2 separate regions of the Homo sapiens genome follow, and region 1 is linked to region 2. Evidence: promoter capture Hi-C in human tissues and cell types (Jung and others, 2019). All regions are on one chromosome and are shown on one strand. The core of a region is centred on a gene start or on the middle of the fragment in contact, and the rest is flanking DNA. Distances in the headings are between cores, read along the strand shown.

Evidence for each region. The method cuts DNA at HindIII sites, captures the fragments that hold promoters and counts their contacts. A contact is called where the count stands out against the background at its distance.
Region 1: a contact is called between the fragment with the promoter of ZBTB7A here and the fragment with the promoter of DPP9 in region 2, in 1 of the 25 tissues and cell types used here (pancreas).

The regions. Positions count from the first base shown.
Region 1 is chr19:4,064,381-4,068,313 of GRCh38, reverse strand. It overlaps ZBTB7A (zinc finger and BTB domain containing 7A), which reads left to right and starts at 1,415. Exons shown (of 3, transcript NM_015898.4): 1 at 1,415-1,632. RefSeq lists silencers at 565-894, 955-1,064, 1,275-1,334, 1,375-1,424, 1,435-1,634 and 4 more. The HindIII fragment of the contact is 23,363 bases long and covers 1-3,933 here.
Region 2 is chr19:4,721,937-4,725,575 of GRCh38, reverse strand. DPP9 (dipeptidyl peptidase 9) reads left to right here and starts at 1,734. Exons shown (of 22, transcript NM_139159.5): 1 at 1,734-1,902; 2 at 3,025-3,077. It overlaps TRG-TCC1-1 (tRNA-Gly (anticodon TCC) 1-1), which reads right to left and starts at 1,506; the gene lies at 1,435-1,506. TRV-CAC3-1 (tRNA-Val (anticodon CAC) 3-1) reads left to right here and starts at 869; the gene lies at 869-941. LOC105372250 (a long non-coding RNA gene) reads right to left here and starts at 2,696. Exons shown (of 3, transcript XR_936274.2): 1 at 2,590-2,696; 2 at 867-956; 3 at 1-441. RefSeq lists silencers at 814-1,013, 1,464-1,553, 1,784-1,933. The HindIII fragment of the contact is 28,361 bases long and covers 1-3,639 here.

The DNA of each region.
Region 1 (3,933 bases), core at 166-2,665, 660 kb after region 2:
CGCTTTTAATAAATTGTGCGAAGAAGCCATAAACTGTGTCTCTCGCAGGAGAGGCTTTGAAGTCAGAGGACAGGCTGGGTACACTACACCCAGGCCGGTGGTGGTTCCCGCTGTCAGGTGGTGTTGGTACTAAGAATGCCAGATAATAATAAAACATAATAATGACCCTGGGATTAGGTGTTAGAATGAAGGCACAGTGAGCCCCGGAACAGGGTCACCCACTGGATAAGCGCTCACTAAACGGCAGCTAAAGCAGCTGTCAGTACTCTCTCTGTCTGGAGGAATGAGGAAGGGGAAACTGAGTCCTGGAGCCCTCCCCCCCCCCCCCAGGCGCGCGGTCGCACCAGCCAGCCCTCCCCGGGCCGGGCCAGGACGTTCTCACCACTCGTGCCCTGCTCCCCCTTCCCTGTCCCCCGCCGGACCTCTCCCACGACCGGGGAGGAAGTGGGAGAAACGGACAGGGGAAAAAAAAAAGTCGCGCTGAACCAACGCCTCCCCACTCCCCACCTCCGCCCCTCGCGAGCCATGCAGACCCCCTTGTGCCAAGGAGCGGCCCGCGCGGACCAGGCGTCCAGGGCCCGGTCCCCGTCCCGCCCCGCGGCCCGCAGCCGGGTGGGGGAACTCGCGAAGCCGGGAAAACAACCGCCCTCCCCGCCCCTCGCCAACCCCTTCCCCCGCTGACGCCCCTAGCGCAGCGGGGTGGAGGCGACTCCTTTATATAATCGCGGGAGGGCAGGTTGGTGGTTTCATTTAGGGACCCGGGAGCCCCGCGGACCCGGGCTGTCCTTGGCAAGGCCACCCCCCGGGGTCCCTGGCGCGGCAAGTCCCACTGAGGCCCGGGGAGGCCCAGGGCCTGGCCTTGCGGGGGGATCCCCACCGCCTCACCCCCAACCCACCCCCGGCAGCCCAGGCCGCGCGACCCACACGCCCGCGTCGCTCCTCGCTGTGCGCACCGCGCTCCCCGCCCCCGCTGCCATCCTGCCACGCCCCGGGCGTCGGGGGCACAGCCCGCGCCCCCCCGCACCCCGCCCCTGCGCAGAGGCTGGGGGCCTGTTTATCTGGAGGCCCCCACCCCCCCTCCACCCCGGGGGGCCCGCTCCCCCCGCGCCCCGGGGAGCTCTGGGGCCAGATAAGCTGGCAAGCTGGCACGGCGCCGCGCGGCGGGGCGGAGAGGTCAGAGGCGGGGGGGCGCGCCGGGGCGGGCCGGACCCCCCCCCCCGACTTGACAAAACCTAATAACAGCCCGGTCTCCCCGGCGCAGCGGGCGAAGCCCCACGGGAGGGCAGAGACGTGGCAAGAGGGGACCTGCCGAGCCTGTTCTGGCCTCCGAGGCCAGGCTGGGGGGGGCGGGCTGGGCGTGGGGGGGCCGGCGGCTGCGGCACCTTTAAGACAAGGGAGGACCCCTCTTGCCCTCGGAGAAACCAGGAAGGGAGTCGCGAGCATCATACGGGGCTTTGGCTGTACTGTACAGTTACTGTAGGGGCAGTGACGCCGCCGCCGCCGCGCGAGGGAGCGACCAGGGCAGCGCGACGCGGGCAGAGCGAGCGCCGCGGACCCCGGAGGCGAGCGGCCGAGGGAGCCCAGTCCCAACTTCGGGCCCCGGCCCCGCGCGCCCCGGCCCGGCCCCGCGAGGTAAGTCAGCGCCCGGCGCGGCCCCCGGCACGGGGTGCAGGGCGGGGACGGGCGGGGGTCGCTGCGGCCACCGCTGCCCCCTCGGGAAGGGGAGATCCGGGGAGCCGGGGACGTTCCCCCAAGTTTCAGAGGAAGGGGTGGTTGGCAGCTGCCCGGAGGCTGGAGGCGCCCTGGATCCCGAGCGCGGGGAGGGGGCGCCGCCCGGGAAGGGGGGATTGGGGGCTAAGTGCATGAGCTTGTGCGCCAGCCCCCCCCAACCCGGGTGCATGGCTTTTCGGGGCTCCCAGGCGCGCGGGGAGCGGGGGAGGGGAAGCAGGGCTGCATTGAGGGTGGGGGGAGCCGGCGTGGGGAGATAGGGGGGCGCGTCGCCTGCTAAGTTTCCAGCTGAAGACGAGGGGCGCTCTCGCCCCCCGGGGGCCTATTCGGTGCTGCGTGCATACGTTGGAGTTGGCCAGGATTGAGCTCCATGGGGGATGGGGGGGAGGGGGCTGAAAAAACAGGGAGGGGGGCTTCGGAAAGGAGGGGGAAGGGGTGGGGTGTCCGGGTGGGCGGGCAGGGCCGCAGGGACCTCTGGGCTTCGTAGTCCCTCCGCCGTTTGCAGCCGGCAGGTGGCAAGCGGCTTGGACTACAAGTCCCAGGGTGCCCCGCGCCGACAGCCCGCCGCGGCCTGCGGGTAGGGGCGGTGCGGAGGAGGGGCGGTGAGCGGCGGGCCGGAGAGCCAATGGGCGCGGGCCGATCGCGCGGCGCGGCGCGGGGGCGGGGCCAGCCCGCCAGGGGGCGGGGCCTGGAGCCGGGCTCCCCTCGCCGGGGGCCGGTGGCGGTCCCGGCTTCCGGCTGCGCGGCCCGCGGGCCGGCCCCCTCCCCGCCCCGGGGCCCCTCCCCGCCTGGTTGTGTAACCGTCCCCAGCCCCCCTCCCCTCGGCCCCCCGCCCGTGGGGGGGGGGTCACCCTCCCCGCGCTCCCCGGGGAGGGCGGCGGCCCGGGCGGCCGCGCGGTGCAGGCGAGCCCGGGGATGCGCGGCCTAGCGCAGGCCGGGCCCGGGCGTGGGGGAGGCGGGCGGGCGGACCCAGATCCGGGGTAATTTGCATCGCCCTCCCCCCAGCCCGGGTGGGGATTGGCCGCCGGCGGCGGGGGGTGGCGCGGGGCCAGGCTCACTGCCGCCTCCCGGCCCCTCGGAGGGAGCCAGCCCAGCCGCAGCCGCCGCCACCGCCGCCGCCGGGGCCGGGCCCCCTCGCCGCTGCCCCGGGAAGGAGGTAGGAGCCCCCCGCGCGGGCGAGGCGGCGGGGGACCGCGGGCCGGGCGGGGGCCGCGCGCTGCGGCCGGGGCGGGGGAGGGGGCCGCTTCCTGCCCCCGCCCGGGCCTGACTCAGCCCCGGGTGGGGGGCCTGGCCTGGCCCCTCGCCCTGCCCGGACGGCCGTCCGGCTCCGACCCGCGGGAGGGGGCGGAGAGAGCACCCCAGTCCCCGCCGTCCGCGCCCCCAAAGCGCGTGACCCCGTCTCCTCTGGCCCGGACCCCCCCTCCTTTCCCTTGACGCCACCACCACGTGCGAAGCCTGAGCCCGGGCAGGGGAGGGGGGAGCTGGTGGGATCCAGCCCCCTCCCTCCCGCTCCCTACCTCCCGGGCGGGAGACCCAGCCCCCCCGGCCTGGGAGCCTGGCTGGGGGCTGAGCGGAGCGGAGGAGCGGGTGCCCCCCCAGGGACCGGGCCTCTGCGGGTTCTGGGAGGCGCTGCCCGGGCTGGCTGGCGGGGGCGCACGGTGGGCCGCGGCGGGAGGTTGCTGTCCACCCGGGCCCGGACACCCAGTCGGCGCCCACTAAATGTTGGCGGAATGCAGCCAGGAGTTGGCGGCGAGGCGGGGGGAGGCAGCAACTCCTCTCCCCCCAGTCAGGCGGCGGAAGTCACAGAGGTGCTGGTGCCCCTGCCACCCGCGGCACCCACCTGGCTCACCCATGGGTGGCGGGCTCGGTGGGCCCCCCCACCTCCCTGCCAGCTGCCTCCGGAGAGGGCGTGGGGATTCCGTGTCAGTGCCCCCCGCCCCAACCTCAGAACTGGACCAGGGCGTAACCCTGAGCGTGCCGCTCCCACACTGGGGGTGCCTCCCCACCACCGGCCGATCACTTCCTATTGGCAAACTGGTCTGGGAGAGGTCCCGGGGAGGCCAGGCTGGGGCAGGGGCCCAGGCCAGGCCAGGCCTAAGCCCAGCCCTGCTGCTGCCAGGGCCTGAGGGCTTCAGGCCGGGGGCGTTTGTCCGCGAGGGCCACCCGCCATGGGGCCCCGAGAGCACCTATCGGCGGGGCCGGGGC
Region 2 (3,639 bases), core at 485-2,984:
AACAGGAGCAAAACTCCATCGGAAGGTAAACACATACACACACAGTTTTTCTTTTCAGAAAGCTCTTTTACAGTGTAGTTGGGGTCGGGCGCGGTGGCTCATGCCTGTAATCCCAGTACTTTGGGAGGCTGCAGGCGGGCGAATCACGTTGAGGTCAGGAGCTGGAAAGCAGCCTGGGCAACATAGTGCAGGCCCTCTAGTCTCTACAAAAAATACAAAAGTTAGCTGGGAGTGGTTGCACACGCCTGTAGTCCCAGCTATAAGGCACCGTCTCTACAAACGCATTTTTTAAAATTCAGCCAGGCGTGGTGGTCCACACCTGTGGTCCAAGCTACCCAGGAGGCTGAGGTGGGAGGATCGCTTGAGCCCAGGAGGTGGAGGCTGCAGGGAGGGATGATCGTACCACTGCACTCGAGCCTAGGCGACAGAACGAGACTCTCTCTAAAAAATACAAAAAACAAAACACACAAAAAAGTAGTTTGATCTAAAGCAAAATGGTGAATATCTGCAGAAACTAATGTGATATCAAGTATAGATTGATATCTATGAGATGAAAAGCTTCATTTGACCCCGGATGGGTTTGTGGGCCGTTTGACGTGCATTGTTTTAATGGAAGGTGGATTTATGATAAAGTGATAAACATGTGTGTGGGTGGGTGGGTGTGTTGGAAAGGGTGTTTATTGGATTTCTTTTTGTCTTCCTTATTTTCCTTCTTTCGGTCTCTACTGTATCAAATACAATAACAGATATTCAGGAAGAGCGGATATTGCTTTAGCTGACTGTAGCCAGTGTTTCTTTGGTGGGACAACGCAACTATCACTGCAACATTATCTCTATAGGAGAATTTAAAGAACCCTGACGCCTACCGGTTTCCGTAGTGTAGCGGTTATCACATTCGCCTCACACGCGAAAGGTCCCCGGTTCGATCCCGGGCGGAAACAGGTCAGCTGTTTTTCCTAACCGGAGAGTAATACTATTTGAAATTCACCGAAAGAACGATTCTAGTCCCATTCTTTCTCTTCCGCCTTCCTCCTGCCTTTTAGACATTTTTATGGGATTTAAAAAAATTTTCCGTGATTGATGGCTCACGCCTGTAATCCCAGCACTTTGAAAGGCCGAAGAGGGCGGATCACCTGAAGTCAGAGTTCGAGACCAGCCTGGCCAAAATGGTGAACCGCCCCCCCCCCCCCACCCCGCCCCACCCCGCCCCACCCCACCCCATCTCTACTAAAAATACAAAAATTAGATGGGCGTGGTGGCGTGCGCTTGTAATCACAGCTACTTGGGAGGCTGAGGCAGGAGAATCGTTTGAACCTGGGAGGTGGTGGTTGCAGTGAGCGGAGATCACGCCACTGCACTCCAGCCTGGGGGACCGAGCGAGACTCCGTCTCAAAACTAAAATGAAAATTTCAAACTCGCAAAAGTGGTACCGCATGCGTTGGCCGGGAATCGAACCCGGGTCAACTGCTTGGAAGGCAGCTATGCTAACCACTATACCACCAACGCCCTGATAGGTAGCATCCTCTCCGGATATCCTTAATAGTGGGGGATCATGGGTTTGACTGAGTGATACCAAGTCACAGGGGGGTGTCTCTCCCTAACCCACCGGAAGATGTCGTTCATGGGGCGTTACGCACCTTAGGCCGCCGCGCCGCGGGCTCCCCCCCAAGCGCCGCGGACGCCTTGGTACGTGCCTGGTGGTGTCCAATCCCAGGCCGCCGCCTGGGTCGCTCAACTTCCGGGTCAAAGGTGCCTGAGCCGGCGGGTCCCCTGTGTCCGCCGCGGCTGTCGTCCCCCGCTCCCGCCACTTCCGGGGTCGCAGTCCCGGGCATGGAGCCGCGACCGTGAGGCGCCGCTGGACCCGGGACGACCTGCCCAGTCCGGCCGCCGCCCCACGTCCCGGTGAGCAGCGCCCGCGCGCCTCGTCCCGCCCCGGCCGCGACCCTGAACCCGCCATTGACCGGCCCCGCCTCGGCCCTGACCCTGCCCTCGCCATCGCCTGGCCTCCCCGCACCCCGGAGCCTCCATGCACCCGTCTGTGGGTCCCTCCGGCCCCCTGCCTCGTTTCCTCTCCGCCCCAGGCCCTCCTCCACCTTCTTTCCCTCCCCGATTCCTGCGCTGGCCAGGCCACCTCCCAGTTTCTCCCCTTCCCTGATGGGCTTCCCCACCCATCCCGTTGCTGCCCAGGCCACCAGGCTCTGACCCCTTCCGGAGGTGGCCGCACCCAAGAACGTCCTCGTAGCTGCAGACCTTGACACCCTCTCCCCTTTCGTGCAGGCTCTGGAGGTCCCGATCTCCTCCCTCTCCCCATGCAAATGCTGTATATGCACAGAGGCCACCTCCCTCGACCTGCATCCTGTCCTCACTCCTTTACCACTTCCTCCAACCTTCGCCCCGAGGCTTGGTCTCCCCAATCCAGTCCTGATCCTCAACCCTACTTGATCCCTCTATTAAGGGTATCCAGAGACTCTTTTTCCTGCCGAGGCGTTGGTGGTGTAGTGGTTAGCATAGCTGTCTTCCAAGGGTCCAGCCCACAGGGTTCAGCCCCCTTCTCTCAGCCTCCCTTCTCAGGCCTGTCCAACCGCCTACCTTCTTCCCACACAGCCTTAGGCCAGCCCTGACACTTCCCTGTTCACGCTGCCTCTGAGCCATCAAAAGTGGTCTATTCCCTTGGCCCCCACCCCCTGGTCTTCCCCAGGGGCCCCAGGAGGAAGTCACTTGCCTCCCAGGCAAGAACCAACCTGCTTTCGAGGAGCTGGGACTAAAGCCCAGGGGGTGTGGACCGTAGGCACCAATCCCTGCATTCCTCTGCTGGGTCCCAGGGGAATCGGGGCCCGTGGGATGGCTTCTCTCCCAGATTCTGTCCAGGGCATGCAGACAGTGCTGCAGGGCTTCAAGGCAGAGCTAGAATCTAGCCAGGTAGAATCGGGCCTGACAGTCTGCAGCTCCTGAGTGGGGGAGGCTGAACGGCTGGCCGGTGCTTCCATTAACCTGCCACATTCATGACATGTTTATCCTATAAAGGTCTGTGTCCCACGCCTGCAGCTGGAATGGAGGCTCTCTGGACCCTTTAGAAGGTCAGTTGTGCTGGGGTTTGGCAGCCAGGAAGGCTGGGGTGTGGGCTGGTGGGATTCCTTTGCCTGCTCTAGAATATAGACATGGGCAGGAAATGGTTTTCTATGGCCCTGGATGGTTGTCCTCCGCAGGGCAGTGGCTGCAGTTTTTTGTGCGCCTGCTGGAGGCTTTTCTTTCCACCCCTGTCCCCCTCTAGCTGCCCCTGGAAGGAGCTTTTTGAAGGCTTTGAGGAGAGGAAGGGGAGAGTGCTGATTTCAGCAGGATTTGGTGGAGGGGTGCCTGGATCCACCTACACTGCCTGACCCGGTCAGTAAATGGTGTGGATTCTGGCCCTGAAAGGACTTTAGTTTGAGTCTCCCCCTTCCTGTGGTTTTGAGTATCTTGTTTAGTTGACAATGCTAGCTGTCATTTAGTTTGTGCTACATCAGACACTGTGTTAAAAGCTGTATGTGTGCAGTCTCATTCAATTCCCTTGGTGGCCCCAGGCGTAGATACTGTCATACCATGTTCTCGCTGGGGAAGTGGAAGCTCAGAGAGGTTCAGCGACTTCCCCAGAAGTGGCAG